Linked DNA regions of Homo sapiens: all the other regions are linked to region 2. Evidence: promoter capture Hi-C in 16 types of primary human blood cells and fetal thymus (Javierre and others, 2016). All regions are on one chromosome and are shown on one strand. The core of a region is centred on a gene start or on the middle of the fragment in contact, and the rest is flanking DNA. Distances in the headings are between cores, read along the strand shown. Region 1 has its middle 170 kb from the start of THORLNC. Region 2 holds the start of EN1 (engrailed homeobox 1). Region 3 holds the start of C1QL2 (complement C1q like 2).

Evidence for each region. The method cuts DNA at HindIII sites, captures the fragments that hold promoters and counts their contacts. A CHiCAGO score of 5 or more calls a contact.
Region 1: a contact is called between a fragment that was not itself captured here and the fragment with the promoter of EN1 in region 2, in 1 of 17 cell types (endothelial precursors). The highest score is 5.1, in endothelial precursors.
Region 3: a contact is called between the fragment with the promoter of C1QL2 here and the fragment with the promoter of EN1 in region 2, in 1 of 17 cell types (monocytes). The highest score is 8.0, in monocytes.

Annotation. Positions count from the first base shown.
Region 1 is chr2:118,353,714-118,357,514 of GRCh38, forward strand. No RefSeq gene overlaps it. Among named protein-coding and RNA genes, the nearest start is that of THORLNC, 170 kb to the left of the region's middle. The HindIII fragment of the contact is 650 bases long and covers 1,972-2,621 here.
Region 2 is chr2:118,845,024-118,848,943 of GRCh38, forward strand. EN1 (engrailed homeobox 1) reads right to left here and starts at 2,625. Exons shown (of 2, transcript NM_001426.4): 1 at 1,283-2,625. The coding sequence starts at 2,144. RefSeq lists enhancers at 1-293, 294-943 and a silencer at 210-504. The HindIII fragment of the contact is 11,695 bases long and covers 293-3,920 here.
Region 3 is chr2:119,157,030-119,160,463 of GRCh38, forward strand. It overlaps C1QL2 (complement C1q like 2), which reads right to left and starts at 1,722. Exons shown (of 2, transcript NM_182528.4): 1 at 557-1,722. The coding sequence starts at 1,240. RefSeq lists an enhancer at 90-900. The HindIII fragment of the contact is 3,837 bases long and covers 165-3,434 here.

The DNA.
Region 1 (3,801 bases), core at 1,047-3,546, 490 kb before region 2:
AAAATAAGGAAAAGATATAAACAGTCAACACAATGTAAAGTCACTATGAATGGCCACTGCCATTCACATCCCTTTCAGTTCTGACATGCCTTGTCATTTCTATAGCTGTTACTAATTGTGTCATTTACTTTAAAATGTATTATGTGCCATTTATCATGGTTATCTATTTCATTTGGGGAACTTTTCTTGTTACATCCCCTGAGAACAAGCACTGCATTTAGATCTTTAAAATATATCCATCAGACAGCCCCTAGCTCACCAATGGATACCCTGAAGAGACTCCATGAATATTACATATATATTTTAACGTCTCTGAAATTGAGACGCACATTACAATCTATGGTATTTAACACTGAGAGCCAGGCAACATTCAAGGCATAGTTGCCATTGACTGCATAGGCATGAACTTGGTTATTACTACTCATATTATCATCACTTCAGTTAAGTGCACCCTTGGCATTATATTTGTAGAGTTTAATTGTCATTTTAAATATATTTTAAAAGATTACACTCTGACTTGACATTGATGCAAAAAGTTACAGTAAAGGCAGAAGGCACAGAAACAAAGTGGTGGGAGAAAATTGTTATCTGTAGAGCAAATACTCATAACTGTGAAATTGCCTTAATTCCACATTTTCTTGCAAAATAAAGACCAAACTACTTGGTCCTTTGAAAGGAAGGGATCCCCAAACAAATGAAGCTGTGGAAAATTCTGTCTCTGAGATATTTGCAAAAACATTGTCTAAAATAGGCCAAGTAGTGCAACCCAAGGCAAGAAGAATTGCCACATCTCTCTAAAGGAAATTCAGTGCAACAAAGGAATGATGTGACTGGTTCATGCTGCCTCTCATTCAACCAAGAAAAGATCAGCATGAAAACTTGAAGAATGCATGTTAGCAGCATGAAGAAAAATTCCAGATAGAATAGTGGAATTCTCTTTTAAGAAATGCTGCCTCAGGCCGGGTGCGGTGGCTCATGTCTGTAATCCCAGCACTTTAGGAGGCCAAGGCAGGTGGATCACCTGAGGTCAGGAGTTCAAGACCAGCCTGGCCAATGCAGTGAAACCGGTCTCTACTAAAAATACAAAAATTAGCTGGGTGTGGTGGCAGGTGCCTGTAATTCCAGCTACTTGGGAGGCTGAAGCAGGAGAATCGCTTGAACCTGGGAGGCAGAGGTTGCAGTGAGCCGAGATCACGCCATTGCACTCCAGCCTGGGCAACAGGAGCGAAACTCCGTCTAAAAAAAAAAAAATACTGCCTCATCAATGCACCTGATGGTATAGAGGATGATATTGTGAGATAAACATAAATGTTGACTCTGAAATCAGACTGTGAATACGAAGGAATTTTGAAAATGCCTTGAATAATTTATTATAGTTTTTTCTGTTTGTAAAATAGTGATAGTTGATAAAAAATATGGCTAGTTATGTCTAAAAGATCTCTTCCAATAAGCTTATAAAATAAACAACAATAAGAGATAAAAATTGTGTCATCATTGTGTATAAATAAACTTATATCCTATATTTGATGTAATAGACATGATTATTTTTATTAGGTTGTGTTTTATCCTTTCACTGAAACTTGACTGGTTTTGTGACTAGCTTTGAAAGATAGAATGTAGAAGAAATGCTGATTTCAGTCCTAGTTCTTAAAGACCTGGAAGAAGCTGGGCATGATGGCTCACATCTGTAATCCCAGCACTTTGGGAGGCTGAGGTGGGCGGATCACGAGGTCAGGAGTTCGAGACCAGCCTGACCAACATGGTGAAACCCCATCTCCACTAAAAATAAAAAAAAATTAGCCGGGCATGGTGGCGCATGCCTGTAATCCCAGCTACTCAGGAGGCTGAGGCAGGAGAATTGCTTGAACCCGGGAGGTGGAGGTTGCAGTGAGCCGAGATCACACCATTGCACTCCAGTCTGGGCCATAGAGCGAGACTCCATCTCAAAGGAAAAAAACAAAAAAACCTGGAAGCTTCTTACTTTTTCTCTTTTGGAATGCAGACACCATGTTACAAAAATGCTAATTTAGACTACTGGAAAAGAGAGGCCACAGAGGAGAGGAATGGCACCCAGGTGATTGCCAGCATCAAATGCCAGACATGAGAGACAGGCCTAATTTGTTGTTCCAGTCAAGTTGAGTGCAGCTGTATGGGTAAACTCAGCTCACACCAGGAGGAACAGAACCACCCAGCTGAGCCTAGCCAACCCACAGAATTATGAACAACACTAAAACATCATTGTTTCAAGAAACTAAGTTTTAAATATACTTTGTGCAACAACACATAATTAAAACAGGGGTTTGTCCTAAAGGGATGTGTTGTCATCACAAAAATCTCAAACCTGTGGTACTGGCTTTGGGACAGAATGTCAGGAGGGGGCCATGAAGGCAGCAAGGAGATGGTGGAAAAACAGCAAAAGAAGGCAGTTTATAAATGCTAGAAAAAATGGTGAACATTTAGTGCAGGGATTGAACAGTGGAGAAAAGAGCAGACAGTGTTATGTAGTGTCAGAGTAATTAGCAAGACTGCCATCTGGGGTAACTTGGAAAAAGAAAAATTACCTAGTAAACTTGTGGATCTGGCTAAGAATACTTCCAAGCAAACTGCTAAAAATATTATCAAGCTTCTTTTAAAAGCATATAATGAAGTGTTGCAAGAGAAAATTGAACGAAAACTGAACTGTTTGGTTTTTAAGCAGAATTTAGAAGAAATATAGAAAATTCAGGTCAGTTTTTCCAGATGGCAGAAAAAAAAATCCTAAGAATAAATAATCTCATGGAAAATAACAAATATACAGTATTGTCAGTAAAAGTAGCCTCAGGGTTAAAATGAAATAAGAGTGTGGCTGAAAGACTCATTGTTTAGACCTCAGAAAGATTTAAAGTGGTACTTGGTGGACCATTCAGCTAAACAAAAAAAGCTTTTAAGAATCTTAAGGTAAATTCTCTCAGCAGAAACATAAGTCTCATAATGAATTTGGAAGTGGCTTTGAGGCATGGGATAAACTCAGTCAGATTCATAGAAAATCCACAGAGTCTTTAAGAGGATCATATTAGTAAAAATATCACCAGCACGGGCTAAAGGGGACAGTGAAATTTGTAATAAAAAGAAGCAGGCTAAAAGAACTATTCTGCTATAAATATGGGCCATTTCTTATAAGGATGCAGCTAAGCCCAGAGTAATTAGGGAATTGATCACAGGGAACAGAACTGGTACTAATCAAAGGATATGCCCTGCTTTGAGTTGGGGAACTGACATATGCCCAGTGGATTTCAAAATTATTAGGCAGAAACTGCTATGTACCCTTCATATATATAATTGTGGTAAAATGCATATAAAATTTACCATTTAGCAATTTTTAACTGTACAATTCAGTGGCATTAAGTATGTTCACACTGTTGTGCAACCATCATCACTATCCATCTCCAGAGCTTTCTTACCCCAAATTGAAACTCTGCACCCACCAAATGATAACTCTCCATGTCCCCTTTCCCCCAACCCCTTATAACCATGATTCTACTTTCTGTCTCTATGAACTTGACTGTTCTAGGTACCTCATATAACTGGAATCATACTATATTTGTCCTTTTGTGTCAGGCTTATTTCACTTAGTGTGATGTTGTGAATGTCCATTCATCTTGCTATATGTAACAGAATTTATTCTTTTTTAATGCTGGATATTATTCCATTGTATGTACATACTATGTTTTGTTTATTCTTTGGTCTATTATTGGGCATTTTGGTTATTTCCACTTCTGGATGTTGAATAATGTTTTTATAAACATTGGTGTACATCTATTT
Region 2 (3,920 bases), core at 1,375-3,874:
GACTCTTGTAATAAAATCGTTCCTAGTCTCCCGGCCAGCCCGAGCCGTGCAGCCTGACAGCTCAATCACTCTATCCATCAGGCGAGTCAATCAAAGCAGCTTTTCGGAGGTTCAGGGAGCCCGACGTGTCAATAACGGGGCTCGAGATGGCGGGAGCTGATAGTGCGCATCGATCCGCGCCCGGCCGGCAGCTGTGGGGCGGCGAGAGACCAGCCAGAGGAAAGCGGCGCGTGGCTACGTTGTTCCCGGCCCCCTGCCGGACCGGGTGTCTGGAGTGCTGATCTTGGGCCAAAGCTTCTGCCGCTCTCCCAGACACTGCGGGCCGGGGCGTCAGGCAGGCCTTGGCCTTCTCTCCCGGAGCCCAGCTCAGGTCTCCTCCTCGGGTTCGCCAAGCGCGAGGGGCACACGGAAAAGTGGTGGAAGGAAAGCCGAGAAAAACAGGCCTACGGATGCCAGAAGTCTGCTGGATGTGCGGGTGAAAAAAGGAAAGCGCCGCGCGGGGAGGATGCGGGAACCGTTCCGCGGAGAAGCTACGGAGGAAACTGGCTCTCATGCCCTTGGACACGCTTCCTGGCCTGAGCCTGACCTGTTTTCTCTCCTCTCCCACTGTTTTTCAGCTCCAGAAAACCAGGGGCTGCCAGCACCCACCTTTTTGGCAACTGCCTTTCCCTGGTTTCTACCCACCCGGGTCAGACTCTTTTCGCTACCCAGCCGGGGGAGAGGGACGGCTTTCAGACGCTTTCCTCCCTGTCTTCCTGTGTTTCCCATGTTTATCAATGTAAACGGTCTCTCCGCAGAAAATATCGAGATGGTGTTTGTGTCTGTAAGGACACACAGTGAATATAATTTTTCTGAACAAGGCCTTCTCTGGTCAAATCTGGCCTTCGGACGATCAGGCTGGTGGGATTTCAGACACACATCACTAGGCCCACCTTCCTGCCTTATCTAAACACCCTGGAAAGAAAATCACTGACTATGTACTTTTCCTAAGAATAATAAAGATAAGAGACAAAGAAGGCCCCAGGGATTCAGAGTTCAAAATCAAAGAATCGAGACCCGAGCCTCCTGTGCCACGAGCTGTAGCTTCTCGGGTGGTGGCCGCAGAGGCCAGGATCGCATAGCTGGATGAACATTCGGTTGTGACTGGAACTGGGGTGAGGAAGCAGGCGTGAGAGACTGGAGTACCCGAGGCCGGGTTTGCTCTCCCTAGCGCCGCAGCTTGGCGTTCTGGGGCGGTCCGCGGGGCCAGAAGGCATGGCGCAGCCCGGAGTTGGGTACTCACCGGAGGATGGACGATCCGAATAACGTGTGCAGTACACCCAGGCGGGCCATACGAGAGGCTGCTGCGAGTCAGTTTTGACCACGGGCCCGCCGTTGGCTGAGCCCATAAGTAGGATAGCCGGGTTGCCGTGCTCCGGGTATTTGGTGCCCTGCGCTCCGGGGCTCCCCGCGCCGCCTCCACTGCCGCCGCCACCGGTGTCCGAGGGCTTGGCTGCTGCGGCCGCCGCCGCCGCCGCCACTGCCGCCGCGGCCGCCGCCGCCGCCGCAGCCGGGTTCCCAGCTTTAGACGCGCCCGCGCCGGCGGCGGCTGGCTGGGAGCCGTCGGGTGGGCCACAGTTCGCGTCCGGGGCGCACAGGAGCGAGGCAGCGCCTGGCGCCCGGGTGCCCAACGGGTGGACAGGGTCTCTACCTGCGGCAGTCTGGCCTCTGTCACGCTCGACCCGGCCTCCTCCTCCTGCGCCTCCTCTGGCCGCCGCAGCCACCAGAAGCTGCGGTGGCGGCTGCTCCTTTTTGCAGCCGAAGTCCGGCCTCAGGATGTTGTCGATGAAAAAGTTGGTGGTGCGGTGCAGCTGGGCCGCTGGCTGCGGCTGGTGAGCAGGCGCCGCGAGATGCTGAGGCGGCGGGGGCGGGGGGTGTGGGGGGAGGTGCGGGTGGTGGGCCAGGGGCGGCAGGCAAGGCGCCGCGGGCGGCGAGGGGGGCGCAGGCTGCGGGGACACCGGCACGCTGTCTCCATCGCTGCCGCTGCCGCTGCTGCCGCTGGCGCCCGGACTGAGGCTCAGGCTGAGGCCGCCCGGAGTCGCCGCCGCCGCCGCGCCGAGGGCCGAGTCGCGCTGACTTTTAGGTTCCGGCTGCTGTTCTTCCATGCTCGGCCGCCCCGCCGCCCCGGCCGCCGCGCCGGCCCCCGCCCCCACCGCCTCGCTCCCCACCCCACTTTGCCAGCGGCCCGTGGGGGTGCGCGGAGGAAGGAGGCAGGCGAAGCCTCAGCGAAGGCACGGGGCGGGTGCAGGAAAAAAGCTCAGGCGTCTGGCCTGGATCGCTCGTTCTTATCTAGCAGATAGATCTCGCTGTCTCTCCCTCTCTAATTTGTAGACATCCAGATATGGAGACACTTGGCTATTTCTTTTTTCTTTCTGCAACCAGATTCAATGATTTGATTTAAATGGGGAGTAAGCCACGGCCAAAAAAATGAAGGAAAAAAAGAAAAAGAAAAGGAAAAAGAAAGCAAGAAAAAAAGCTCCAATAATTTTTTTCTTAAAGGGAAAAAAATAGTATTTAAAGTCTAGCCATCTTCCTAGGCAGTAGTGAGGGGTTTGACTTCCCCGAGTGTCACGCTCAGCTGTGCCCAGAGCGTGAGGCTGGCAGCGCCTTTAATCGCCTTTGCTTTTTTTGCAGGGAGAGCGCGTCTCCGCCAGCGCCGGGCTGTTTTTTTTTTTTTTTTTTTTTTTTTTTTTTTCAAATCTCTGACAGCTCGGATCTTTGCACAAACTCTCTCGCTTAAAAAAAAAATCACCCAGGCACACTTTTTGCCTTCAAACCGGAAGCACGTGAGTCAGGGCCGCACGTGTGCGGAGCCAATGGCGAGCCGGGACTCGCGCTGACACTCGGGCCTCGGCCCAATGGGCGCGCGCGGGACTTTGCGGATAAATAATCCGGGGGCGTCAACCGCTGGCGGAGAGGGGGCGCCTCGGCGCTGGCCCTGTGCGTCGGGTCCGCCCTCCCCCACCCGCGCCCGCACCCGCGTCCCTCCCCCTCCTTCAGGCCGGGACTCAGGAGGGGGCAGAAGAAACCCGGGAGGGGTGAATTTTGGGATGTAGGCAAATGGAGAAGCAACTCCATAAACAACTTGTTAGAGAAATGCAGGATTATGGGTCTGTGAGCTACGGGAGCAGGGGCAGTAGGCAGGAGCCTGGCTGTTTTGCACCCCCACGCCTAAGAAACTCAGCTTTTTATTTTCTCCTCTGTCTCTGGTTGCTGTTATTGAAGGATGGGTGGTTGTTGTCACTGCCGGTTTGTGTGTTTGTGGGTGGGTGTGGGTTTGGGTGTGTGTAGTGGAGGGAGGGGGAGTGAGACAGGGAGGTCGGTGATGTGAAATAGACCTAGAGTTGGTTACTTTCAGAGGCGCAATTTGTTTTTCACAAATAGCAAAATCTGAAAGGCCCGCTGCGCCTAGCTAGCGTCGCACGTTTACGTTTGTACGTCTCCTGCCGGCCCGCTGCATTGCTTTCCCTTTGTGGGGAATCCGCACCCATGCCCTTCCCGGTCCAGACTTTCGACAACACCCTGGAGCTGCCCTGGCGCCATAGAGCCAAGCCCAGAGGGCTAGGAATAGCCCCAGAGCCAGTTGCCTGGACCTTCCCTGGCAGTGGGAGTCCGGGCAACGCAGATTAATCTCAGGAGGGCCCCGGGGCCGGCGAGTCAGAACGCGGATGCGCGCTAGGCCCTAGCTTTTAGAGTTCAGGGTAACCTCTGTGTTAGATTTCCCTGCAAAGTAAAATCAAATAAATGAAAGCGCTGCACCCCAAGTATTTGCCCTGGCTAGCTGAAGTTGTGAACAGGGAGTTTCCCTCAATTGCCGGGTGACTGAATTTCCTGGGATTGCTCCCAACTCCCTGGGTGCCTCCGGCTCCAGCTCTGTGCGT
Region 3 (3,434 bases), core at 472-2,971, 310 kb after region 2:
CCTTTGCTCAGCCCACACCAGGCGCGCCACTCACGGGCCTCCCGCCTGCTGCTTCAGGGTCCACACTCCCACCCCAGCTCCATGTTCTCTCTCCAACTTAGTCAACTCCTTCCAGGTCCCCCCTCCTCCTCGCGCCGACGAGTCTGGGAAATAGGGAGAGGGGAAGCTTCATGAACACTGACCCAGAGTGGAAGGGTGGGAGCCAGGGGCCAGGGCCAAGAGGAAAGGAGGCTGCAGGGCAAGGGGGCGACCTGGAGAGAACTAAAGAACTGAGGTTTCCGAGAAGCCCACGGAGAGGCAGGCAGGGACGCAAGTGGCCAAGGAGTGTAGTTTAGGTATGGGGGTCTCTGGGCTCTCAAGGCCCAACATTTGGCTCTACGTCCCGGTGAGCGCGGCCTCGGCGCATCGGGAAGCGGAGATACTGTGGCACCGAGGCGCGTTCATTCCCGGGGCTCGCAGGGTAGCCCGCGGGTGGAGAGAAAGGAGGCTGGTTCCCTGGGAGGTTCAGGGCGCGGGCGAGGGTTTACGGGGGCCGGTGAGTGTAGGGGTCACTGACCTGCCCGTTCTTGCAGAGGTCCGCCCACATGCTGGTGCCGTCGCCGCCGCGCATGAGGATGTGGTAGGTGAAGAAGTAGATGCCGCGTACCTGGCAGCTGAACTTGCCCGTGGTGGGGTCATAGTGATTGCCGAGGTTGGTGACCACGTCATCGAACTTCAGCACCTCATAGCCTTCGTGGGGGCTCTTGAGACCCACATAGAAGGCGATCTTGGGGCCGCTGAAGGTGGCGCTCAGCGCACTGGTCACTTCACCCTCGGAATCGCCACCTACCCCGGCCCCGCCGCCCACCACCCCGACGCCGCTGGCCGTGCCCGCCGTCAGTTGCAGCCCTGGCAGCCCGGGCCGCCCCGAGTCGCCCTTCTCTCCCGGAGGGCCCCTGGGTCCAGGCGGGCCCGGCTCTCCAGGGGGCCCCCGCGGCCCTGGCTTGCCCGGTCGCCCCGGGTCGCCCTTGGGTCCCTGGATGAAAGGAGGAGGAGGGTTGGCGCTGAGGTCCTGCATGACTTCCAGGGCGGCGGTGCTGGGTCCGGGTGGCTGCGCCTTTGCACCCGGGGGCTCCCCGCCGGGCGCGGCAGTGTAAGGGTCGCAGATCATGCGGCAGGTGCCCATCATCTCATAGTGCGCGGCGCCTCGGGGCGCCGCCTGCAGCAGCAGCGGCACGGCGATGAGCAGCCCGAGCGCCATGGCCAAGAGTACGCCGACGGCCGCCAGGCAGGCACGCCGCCGCCGCTGCCACAGCCGGGAGGCGACCGCCACCAGCTCCTCCTTGCCGCCCGGGGAGGTAATGGTGGGGCGGCGCGGGCGGCCCCGCTCCCCGCGCTCGGGGACCGGCTCCGCGGGTCCTGGCCGCGCCCCCGACGTGGCGACCCCCAGCCCCGGCTACCCAACTACTTCAGCGAGAGGCGCCGGGACCTCTGAGCCTGGGCCCACCGCGCTGGGGCTGGTCGGGAGAGCCGCGGACGCCCGCGCGCATGACGTGGGGCACACAAGACGAATCCGGCGCCCCGAGGGTCCGGCGCCGGCCAGGGAGTGCTTGCGCTGGCCGGGGAGTCTGCTTGCGGCGTCCGGCGCTGGCTCCGCGGCGCTGCCTCCCGCCAGGCTCCGCTCCGCTGGGTTTAGTGGGGCTCCTAGCGCAGTGAGGGCGCCCCGGCTCCGCGGCGCGCTCTGCTGTGCTCTCTCGCTGTTCGCTGGCTCCCGCGCGGAGGGGGGACCCCGCTACCCTGACGTAAGGAGTCCGGGGCTGAGCGGCGGAGGCGGCGAAGCAGCGCGCGCTGCCATCACTCGGGAGACGGAGCCCTCATGTCATCAGCCTCCTATCTGGCGGCGTCCTCGGCAGAGGCGGTGAAGGCGCGGTTCCCCCTGGCGGCTCCCAGGAGCCACAAGTGGGCGCAGCGGGCGCGGTCCCAAGCCGGGGCACATCGGACACACCCACCCGCGGCCACACTCACGCGCCCCCCACCGATAACACACACAGACACCCACGCACGCAGTGGCGGGGCACGCACAGCCACCCCCACATGGCCACGAAAGCAGCTGGAATCCAGGTGTCAGCAGGGCTCCTCTGGGGTCACCTAATCCATCCCCTGGCCTGCAAAGAGGATCAAACCTCAACCCACCGAGTCCAGGAGAGTCCCGTGAGGTCCAGCGGGAAGGAGTTTCTGAAAGACCTCCTGAGTTATTTCTTCAGAATTGAATAGATCTCGCTTCTGGAAGATCTTTCGCAAACCTAGACTAAGGACTCCAGACTCTTAAACAGGCTCCCGTAGAGCACCCCACTAACCTCTGAGGTGACTCTAAAAAGCCCAAGGCTCCCAATACAAGAATATTTGCGGCCGGGCGCAGTGGCTCACGCCTGTGATCCCAACACTTTGGGAGGCCGAAGCGGGCAGATCACCTGAGGTTGGGAGTTTGAGACCAGCCTGACCAACATGATGAAACCCCGTCTGTACTAAAAACACAAAATTAACTGGGCATGGTGGTGCATGCCCGTAATCCCAGCTACGCGGAAGGCTGAGGCAGGAGAGTCGCTTGAACCAGAGAGGCAGAGGTTGCGGTGAGGCGGGATCGTGCCATTGCACTCCAGCCTGGGCAACAAAAGCAAAAGTCCATCTCAAAAAAAAAAAAAAAAAAAAGGAATATTCGCCTCAGACCTTTTCTTCCACCAGAAAATGGCTGGCCCTTGTCCTCTGCGTGAAGCTGGTGTAGAAACCAAATGCTTGATGCCGGCACTTGGCAGTGATCATGGTGCACTCAGCTTCTACTCCAAGCCCGGCCACTGCCAGGCAGATGCATGGGCACATTCCCTTGGACATCCCCAGCTTCCTCCTCCTGAGATGGGTTTAGTTATTTTAGAAAATAGTCCAAATAGTCCAAAGCCATTCTGAGCCAGTCTTGAATAAACCATGGCCTCAGATGAGAGCAGAATAGTCTATCTCCAATGTAGCATGTGAGGCTAAGGAAGGATGAGAGGCCCGCCGGTGTGGGAGAGACTTCCAGCGGAGAAATCAAAGCCCCAGCTTCTGCTCTTGCCCTGAGTAGCTGTGTGATTTTGCCAGGTGGTTCCTGTCCCTGAGACTCAGTTTCCTTAAAAGGCCGCCTCCTGCCCTAGCACCCCCAACATGGGAATCACACCAGGCCTGTCCTGGGGGGAGAATCTAAGGGCTGGTGTCAGTGTTTGGTGTAGCATCAGCATCTCTGGAACAACAGTGCACCCACCTAAGGCTATTGCTTTGAAGCTAACTCTCATTTGTCCTGCACTAGGTTCTTACGGGTTAATTAAAATCTATTTTTGTCCTCTGATCACCCTGGGTCATTTCCCCACTCCCAACCTCGTTGCTCTAGCCTGTTCTCTCCACATATATTTGTGGAAAGGATGACT